Regions from separate parts of the Homo sapiens genome. Here region 2 is linked to region 1. The links are contacts of gene promoters, found by promoter capture Hi-C in blood cells and fetal thymus (Javierre and others, 2016). All regions are on one chromosome and are shown on one strand. The core of a region is centred on a gene start or on the middle of the fragment in contact, and the rest is flanking DNA. Distances in the headings are between cores, read along the strand shown. Region 1 holds the start of CAVIN2-AS1 (CAVIN2 and TMEFF2 antisense RNA 1). Region 2 overlaps TMEFF2 (transmembrane protein with EGF like and two follistatin like domains 2).

What was found. The method cuts DNA at HindIII sites, captures the fragments that hold promoters and counts their contacts. A CHiCAGO score of 5 or more calls a contact.
Region 2: a contact is called between a fragment that was not itself captured here and the fragment with the promoter of CAVIN2-AS1 in region 1, in 1 of 17 cell types (megakaryocytes). The highest score is 5.6, in megakaryocytes.

The regions. Positions count from the first base shown.
Region 1 is chr2:191,843,840-191,848,219 of GRCh38, forward strand. It overlaps CAVIN2-AS1 (CAVIN2 and TMEFF2 antisense RNA 1), which reads left to right and starts at 2,649. Exons shown (of 4, transcript NR_187184.1): 1 at 2,649-2,932. CAVIN2 (caveolae associated protein 2) reads right to left here and starts at 3,249. Exons shown (of 2, transcript NM_004657.6): 1 at 2,604-3,249. The coding sequence starts at 3,086. RefSeq lists an enhancer at 2,954-3,462. The HindIII fragment of the contact is 13,325 bases long and covers 1-4,380 here.
Region 2 is chr2:192,056,046-192,060,144 of GRCh38, forward strand. It overlaps TMEFF2 (transmembrane protein with EGF like and two follistatin like domains 2), which reads right to left. Exons shown (of 10, transcript NM_016192.4): 5 at 1,634-1,730. It overlaps CAVIN2-AS1 (CAVIN2 and TMEFF2 antisense RNA 1), which reads left to right. Exons shown (of 4, transcript NR_187184.1): 4 at 1-4,099. Among named protein-coding and RNA genes, the nearest start is that of TMEFF2, 140 kb to the right of the region's middle. The HindIII fragment of the contact is 1,040 bases long and covers 806-1,845 here.

The sequences.
Region 1 (4,380 bases), core at 1,399-3,898:
TGTTATTTCTTTCATTCCTCACTCTATGAGAGAGATAGGAGGGAAGAAGCATTAGTGTTCAAGAGTACGTGCTTTGAAATCAATTAAACATGAGTTTGAATCCCAGTTTCACCACTTGCTTACTAACTAGCTTCAGACAAGCCATAAACGTTTTCGAATCTCAACATCCTCATCTGTAGATTCGGGATAAATGAGATAAGATGCTTACCAATGTATGCTGGGTTTATTAAGTGCTTGATTTTTTTTGCTCTTATTAATATCATCAGTGTATAGATGAGGAAACAGGTTTGGAGAAGCTACAAACTGTGTCCAATATCACATATTTAGCAAGTGGTAGAACTAGGATTTGAACTACTGTTTGTGTGACTCCAAAATTTATCTTCTGAACTACTATACTGGACCACTCTCTAATACAAATTATTATTTTATCCATTGGCATAATTACTACTCTGGGGAAACTGCTACTTTTAGAAGGAACAAGAGAGTCCACTGAGGGACTGTGCTTGCATTAGTTTTATACAAAACAATCATCTTGCGATGCCTTGAGAGTTGAGAATTCTAATATCCTTTAGGCTAATAAAGGATCTTACACGGCTTAAGAAAGGTCCAGTCACTTGCCTCTAGTTTCCTGCCTCCTAAAATGCTCTTTAAAGGTGTCCTTGGGGATTGTTTTCTAAAGGGCCCAGAATGGAGTCCGAGCACATTTCTGTGGATATTCTTAGCTTCCAGTTTGGTCTTGAGCACCCCTGTTTCAGCTTTTACTCACTATATGGAGAATTTCTACCATATCTGGCTGCAATTTCACACCTGTCAATTCAATGTGACAAAACAGGAGACCATGTCAGACCCTCACAACAGCATATGCCTTTAAGTTCCCAAGCAGTTTTTTTTTAATGTCAGATTTATAATTCTCCTGAATTTCTACTAGCATATCCTCTCCATCCCTCCCCCCAACATCTGCAGAACATCCATGACAAAACAAAACAAAACCCAATCCTGACGAATTGTGACTTTCCTCTACAAGATAAATACTTTTTTCCTCCTCCTTAACTGAGGGATGGGACAAGAGATAATTTGCCTGATTCATACTGGAAGCAGGAAAATTTCCTTTGGTGTCTCAGACTTAAACAGGTCTGTACATGTTTGGTTTTGTTTGGAGATCAGTATTTAATTTAGAAATGGCTTGAGAGCTGAGATTTCTAATATCTCTTAGGCTAATAAAGTAAGGATCTCATATGGCTTAAGAAAGGCCCAGTTACAGTATCTCTTTTCAATTCATCTGGTGCATGAAAAGCTACTGCATTTGCATTAAAAGCTGAAAAGTTTTCAGCTGCAAAAGCCTGCAAGGTAGAGGAGGACATAGGCTCCCTAAACCTTTACAATATTCAAGTGCAATTTGAGGAGGACAAAAAAGCAGCGAGATGAGTCTTTCCTTTTATGGGGGTAGGAAGGCTTCTAACTTGGCAGAGCAGATTCATTTTGAAAAAGAAGACTCCCTCGGTTTAAATCCCAATTTCTAAATCTCTCTTGGGAGATGAAGGCTTTCCCTGTGTGCCTTTCACAATCAAACTGTTGGTTATAGCCTCTCCCCTCCATGGCTTTGAAATCCTCTCCTATTCATATGGTCACAACGAGACAGCCCTGGAGCGAGGATGGCAATCGCTTCCTGGGCTCTGTGCTGGCTGGATTCCACTGGGCGGAAGGGCTTCCAGCATTAGGCAGGGCTGCCCTGGGATTCACAAATGCCCACCACTTGGCGGAACAAGAGCCCCACGCAATCTCCCTGTCCCCAGATAGCCTCTTGCTACATTAATTGCATCATTGATGCATTAAAAAAAATTAAGTGGCCTTTTTATTCTAAGGCAACCGTTTGAAGGAGAAACATTTAAGACTAGCCTTTGTGACTATAACTGATAACACTCCTTTTATTTTACTTAACAGTTGTGGTCTCTCTGAACAAGGAGAGGCACGTCTAGTGTGTTTGTACTCTCTTTTTCTAGTGCATTTGCTAGAAAAGAACTCCACAAGATTGCTTTGCCCCAAAAAAGTCTTAAAAGAACAAGGCTAACTCTAATGGAATCAATCCTCTATTTGATTGGTCCCCAAAACGTTGATAGCCTTTGTATAAAGGGATAGTTTGACTTTTTGGTTAAAAAAACCACAAAATACCTCACATGATCACTTCATTTCCACTAAGAGTTAATGAACAGCCACTGAATTAATTTGCCCTGTCCAGCTAACAGCTGCAGCCAGAGCCCTAAGCTCCTAATGCAAAGAGACAAATGAATTTGACTAGGGTGCACGCACCTGCACATCTTCCCAACCTGTACAGAGTGCATCCAGGTGCTCCCTGACAAATGACCCGGGGCCTACTAAGCCCGGGGACATCTTCTTTGGATTAGTCTGTAGTGACCTGGGAAATTCCCACCCCTGTGTGAAGATTTCACATTTGCTTTCCGCAGGCAGACAGGGGACAGTGCCTTGTATGTGTGATCCCTGACAGGCAGGACAAATGTAAAAATGGCTGTGAGAGCCAGGATGAGCGAGATCAAGAATGATAAGGAGTTCCAGCCCGCCTGTAAGGAGGCATAGGGGGAACTGACCTGGAAGATGAGCACTTTGAAATGGTTGCGTCGGAGGAGCTGGGCGTGGTTGTTCTCCAGCCGCTTCACCTGTGCGCACTGCCTATCCATGCGCTCTTTGACCGCGCGCGTGTGGGCGCTGACCTTGCGGGACTTCTCCAGCAGCTTGCTCACCGTGTTGCTGGTGGAGGCCTGGTACTTGGAGAGCTTGGTGAGGTCATTCTGGATGCCCTTCACGGAGCCCTCCAAACTGATCTGTCGCTGCTCCATCTTGTGCTGGTTCTCCTGCACAGCGTCTAGCATGTTCACCAGCTTGTCCAGGAGCGTGAGCACCGTGACTGCGTTCACCTGTGAGTTGTCCCGGATGGCCTCCTCTGTGTTCCCTAGGTTCAGGCTGGGGCTTGGTGTGGAGGAAGGCATCGGGCTGGGGCTCGAGGGCTTTTCCTGCCGCATGTCAGACCCAGGGTGCTGGAACTTTTCGGCCTGTGCAGCGTCCTCTCCCATGGCTAGGCAGGTGGGAACGTTCTTTCTCTCTGGGAGCTGCTTCTTGCTCGGGTGAGAAGTTGCGGTGGTGAGGGTGTAGGATGAGGCCCGCTGGTTGGAGCTCAGGGCACCAGTCTCCAGGACTGGCAGAGGTTCAGACAGGCAACAACTGGCTACGCTGATCAGGGGAACTGCATTCCAGCTGCTCTTAAAGGCCCTACTCCACCCAGTGGGAGGAGAAGTTTACAGAACTGAGAACCATTTAGGGTTCAGACGTATGCACACACTTCCTAACCGCGTTCTGGGCACAGGACACTTTGTTGCAGGTTTAGCTTTTCTTTCCTGTTCCCCTTCCCTTTCAATGTCATATTTCAATCATGACTTCATCTAGAGGCGGAGAAAAACATGCTAACTTGGCCCAGCTCCACAGCTTCCAATTGGCTAAAGCTGGTAAACTTTTCTCTGGCTGCTATGCTGCAGATGCAACAGGGTGCCTGTTTCTTTTTCCTGGATACAAGTTATTGTAACGGAAAGTATTGTTTGCATTTGCCCTAGAACTGACTGATGGGTTGCAGAACACCGGGTGTCCTACTGGGAGGCATAGAGTTTAAAGGGTACTGCAGCCAAGTTTGTATTATTAGTTTCTCATTTGCAAAGGAATGGGACTAACTCTGATAATGATAAGGAAAACAGCTCAGTTCTTATTACTCTTGCAGTTGCAGATACAAAATAAGTTAAAAGAGATTGAACTTCAGGGATATTTAAAAAAAGTAATACTGCTGTTATGACTGTTATGTAATATATGGAAACTTTTTGAATGACCACATTTAAAAAAATGATTGTTTTTTTCAAGAAGTGAGACTGAGGAAAAATAAAATGTGGTCTTTTTAAGAACCTACCGTGATGATTTGTTTTAACTAACTTTGAGTTGGTGAGGAGAGACTTTCTCAAATGCCCATCTCTGCAAGGCATTTATTGACACGTGCCCAGAAGTGTCTGTTGGCAGGCTGAGTTGGAGTTTCTCAAGTGGTTCTAATGTTTGACATTTTAAAATTCCTGCTCAGTGAAGTGGCACACCTGTTCTCAAATGTGGCCCTCCTCAGCTGAACCTTGGGATGTGGGGCTTATTTTCCTAAAATGGCTTTACATGCTTGAGTTGATTTTAAACGTATCCAGCCTTTGAAAGTGCTTTCAGCAGGAAGTTTGTAATAGGCCTTCTATGAACAATTTTGAGACGAACAAATGCCAGCTCATACCAGGTCAGGGATTGATAATGGAACAATGCCATTCGTCAATAGTAACACCTACATGTAAG
Region 2 (4,099 bases), core at 76-2,575, 210 kb after region 1:
ATCTTCACTTAAAAAATATTTTAAGTGCAGACTGTTTTACTACTGCCACATAATCTTGTCTTAATTTTTTTTCTTCATTTTCCTTAGATGAATTTTCCCCTCTACTCACAAAAGTTTGATCAAAATGATGGTTAACTGCTCTAGGCAAGCACAGTCTACATACTGCAGAAAATAAAGAGCAGCCAGATGTTTTCCTGAAAGGGGTGAGGTATATGTAAAAAAGAAAAAGAGAGAAATAATAGCAATAATAATAATAGGAAGAAGATGAAGACAAAGGAGAAGGAAAAGAAGAGGAGAAGGGGAAAGACAGGGAGGGAAAGGAGGAGGAGGAGAAGAAGAGGAAGTGGAAGAGGAAGAAGAGGAAGAGGAGGAGGGGAGGAGCAGAAGAGAGAATAGGAGAGGAATAAAAAAAGGCTGCTGCTTTTCATTATCATGACACAAAGAACTCCCTCAGAAGTTTGAGTTATTCACTTTTCAATGTGCTTAAGGTGGGACGAATACAGTAGAAAGCTAAAATGTTGGCACCCATTCAAAATAATAAGTATTATTCATTATCTGATGAACATATCTTTAAAAGAGTAGTTACTCCATCATCTTAGAAGTCAGATTAGCAACTGGTATGATCTGAATGTTGCTGTCCCCCTCCCCAGATTCATATGGTGAAATCCTAACCCCCAAGATGATAGTATTGGGAGGTAGGACCTTTGGGAGGCGATTAGGTTATGGGGGTGAAGCCTTCATGAATGGGATTAGTGCCCTTATAAAACAGGCTCCACAGACCTCCCTTGCCCTTTTTGCCATGTGAAGCTTCAGTAAGAAGAAGGCTATTTTAAGAGAAAGTGAGCTCTTATCAGACACTAAATCTGCCTTGATCTTGGACTTCTCAGCCTTCATAATGGTGAGGAATAAATTTCTTTTGTTTATAAGCTACCCAGTTTATGGTATTTTGTTATAGAAACCCAAACAGACTAAGTCTGATCATCTATTGCTGCCTGATGATGCCTTTTAAAAATCTTGAGATAAAGTCTCACTCTGTGGCCCAGGCTGGAATGCAATGGCATGATCACAGATCACTGTAGCCTTAACCTCCTGTGCTCAAGTGTTCCTCCCTCCTCAGCCTCCTGAGTACCTGGGACTACAGGCTAGTGTGACCATACCCAGCTAATTATTATTATTTTTTTTTATGGAGATGTGGGTCTCACTTTGTGCCCAGGCTGATCTCAAACATCTGGCCTCAAGCGATCCTCCTGCCTTGGCCTCCCAAAGTGCTGGGAGTACAGGCCTGCTGGGAGTACAGGCCTGAGCCATCACACCTGGCTCTGATGATACTTTTTCAAAGATATTCTAGTAAATAAGACTTTTTTTTCCCTCTATATCCTAACATTGACAGTTTTGGGGGGCTTCAATGATATTTTAGTGTGCCTTATCAAGTAATGCCATGGATAGCTGCTTGGCTGGCCCACCTCTTAATCCAGTTCCAGAAATTCCTTGCCCTCATTTTTTTTTTCACTTGGGAACTGAATAAGAAAATAAAAATGCAGACAATGTCTTCTGTTGCAGAATGGTTGATGGTGTTAAAAAGAAATTAATCACTGTCATTATTTTGTCTAAAAGAATAAAAACAGCATATTACCAGACATCCTCGGCATCTTCGTCACATTCTGCACCAAACTGGCAAATATCACAGGTGGATGTCTCCTTTTGACTAGTTTCTCCAGAGCCTTCATGGACTGTAGGACAGAAAAACAGTAAAAGGAATTCAGGTAATTGTGCATTATATCTACAACTCCAGGACAATTCTTTAATTAAAGCTGCTACTTTCCCAATGGACCTGTCTGCTATTGAAGCTTCATAAGAATGTCAAAAGCAACTCTTTTTTTTCCTCCAATTTAAAGACAACTCTAACAATAATATGTTTCCCATTGGTATGTGGTGAACACGTTTGCATTTTGCATGCTAAATAAAACAAAAAGCATGTGAGTTTATTGGATTCATCAAAATTATTTGCCTAATAGACCATATGAAAGAGTTATTTAGTTAAAAGGGAGTTAAATTTTCACCTCTCTGAGGGAGAGATCTACTGTCTATTTTACTGAAACATATTTAGCATTTTCTTATTTCCAGATTATGGACTTTTTCGTTCAAAGAAAGTTTTCATGTATAATTTTTAAAAATTTAGATGAGCATCCCTGATTTATTAGATAATGCCCCCATTTTTCCCCTCAAACTGTTAAGTACTTATAAGAAAAAGTATGTTGATTATAAGTTTTTAGAAAATAGTTTTTAGTTGTTTTTTACTGTCATTTACTGAATCTTACATAAGTATTGCATAGAGCTAATCACAGTGATTCATTGTTAGAGGGTTATGAACATATATTTTATTTTAAAAAAATACATTGAGTCACTGTTTAGTCACTGATAATGATGATTGATATTGGTCCTTTTTTCCTCTAAATTACAAGTGCAAAAATAGGCAATATATCACCTAATTATAAAGTTAGTCTTTCAAAATCAGGATACAACAGTGTAAATTGAGAAAAAATTTCTAGTATTTGAGTACAAGGAATGAGCAACACTTTCAAGGTGAATTACCTGTTTTCCCAGTTAAAAATATATAGTTGAAAGAAAAAGTAGTTTTATTTTAAAATGAAAAATTACAATCAACTAACTACCGCATAGATAATATAATTCCATACACAGATCATATACATTTAAAAACAGATGTTTAAATCAAGGGAACCTTTAAGAAGTGCACTTCTGCAAAAGAACATTTTCAACAGAAAAAGAACATAAGCAATTAATCCCAGCATTAGTTCCTGTCTTTATGAACATTTTAAACAACAAAGACAACTTATTAACATGCACCTTGAACCTGTCAAATCCAATCTTACTTATTTAGTTTTAATATGTTATTTTCTCTTCATTTCTTTTTTGTTTATTGACAAGTTTTTCATACTTATAAAATCAAAGATCTTTAGTTTTCTTTAGTTTACTGCTGTTCAGATGAGTAATTTGATTTACTCAAAAAAGGACAAGAAGACATCCCTAGGAGAGTTATCTGTTTTATAACTCTTCCAAGAAAGGTGGAGGGATTTATTTTTTCTAAAACATTTTTTTCCTGTGCTTGATAGTCAACGCTTACATTTTTAAAACAATATGAATTAAACAGGTCAATTTCAATTGCAAAAGTATTGATGGTATAGTTTTCAATTTGGATGTCTTAAAAAAAAAAAAAGGTGTCCTCCCCAAAAAGAAGAAGGAATTTTAGACTCTGATAAAATAGACAGCACTTATCTTATTATTCACTCTATTACTTTAATATAGGCAAGACCATTAGAGTGGACCATGGGGATAAGAGGGAAGCTGGGGCCTCATCTCAGGGGAGACCGAACAGCTGAGGTCGGTCTCTTTATTACTTTCTGATTATTAATGCAACACAGAAGCTGCTAATGGGAGAAAGCCTTTTAGTGTTAGCAAGATTAGCAACTTCCAGACTAAAGCTTCCCATTACTCAGGAAAGATAAGAACACAATGGCAAGGACCTTAATGAACAGTGATGGCCACTTAGAGACAGCCCCATTTTCTTCAGCAGTTGAGATCTTTGGTAAGGGATTGACTGGAGGTCATCCAGGGATAAATTTTGCTATCTCAGCAGGACTAATAATAATATTTCTACCAGAAGTCATATTACATTTCTATAAAAGGGCAATTATTGGTAAAATGGAGATGTTTGGAAATTCTCTGATAAGGAGAAGTAAATTCAAAAGAAGCAGTAGGAATACCCCCATCAATAAGTATTGTGTGAATAAAGTGCCTTTCTATGAAGTCACCCACAAAGAAATATAAAATAAAGTATTTCCATATTACTGGAAGCATTGGTTTGCACCTTTGTATAACAGTAAACAAACAAATGACTTAATCGGTGCACAACTTTCATTTAACTTTTTATACCAGTGGTTCTTAAATAGGGTCTGATTCAGAGGCTTTCGTGGATCATATTTTTTTTTTTTTAATAAAAATGCCCTGAGATATCCTTGGAGATACTGAATTGGACTTAGTTTGGGGCTTCAATATGCCTATTCTGAATACAGACTATCTC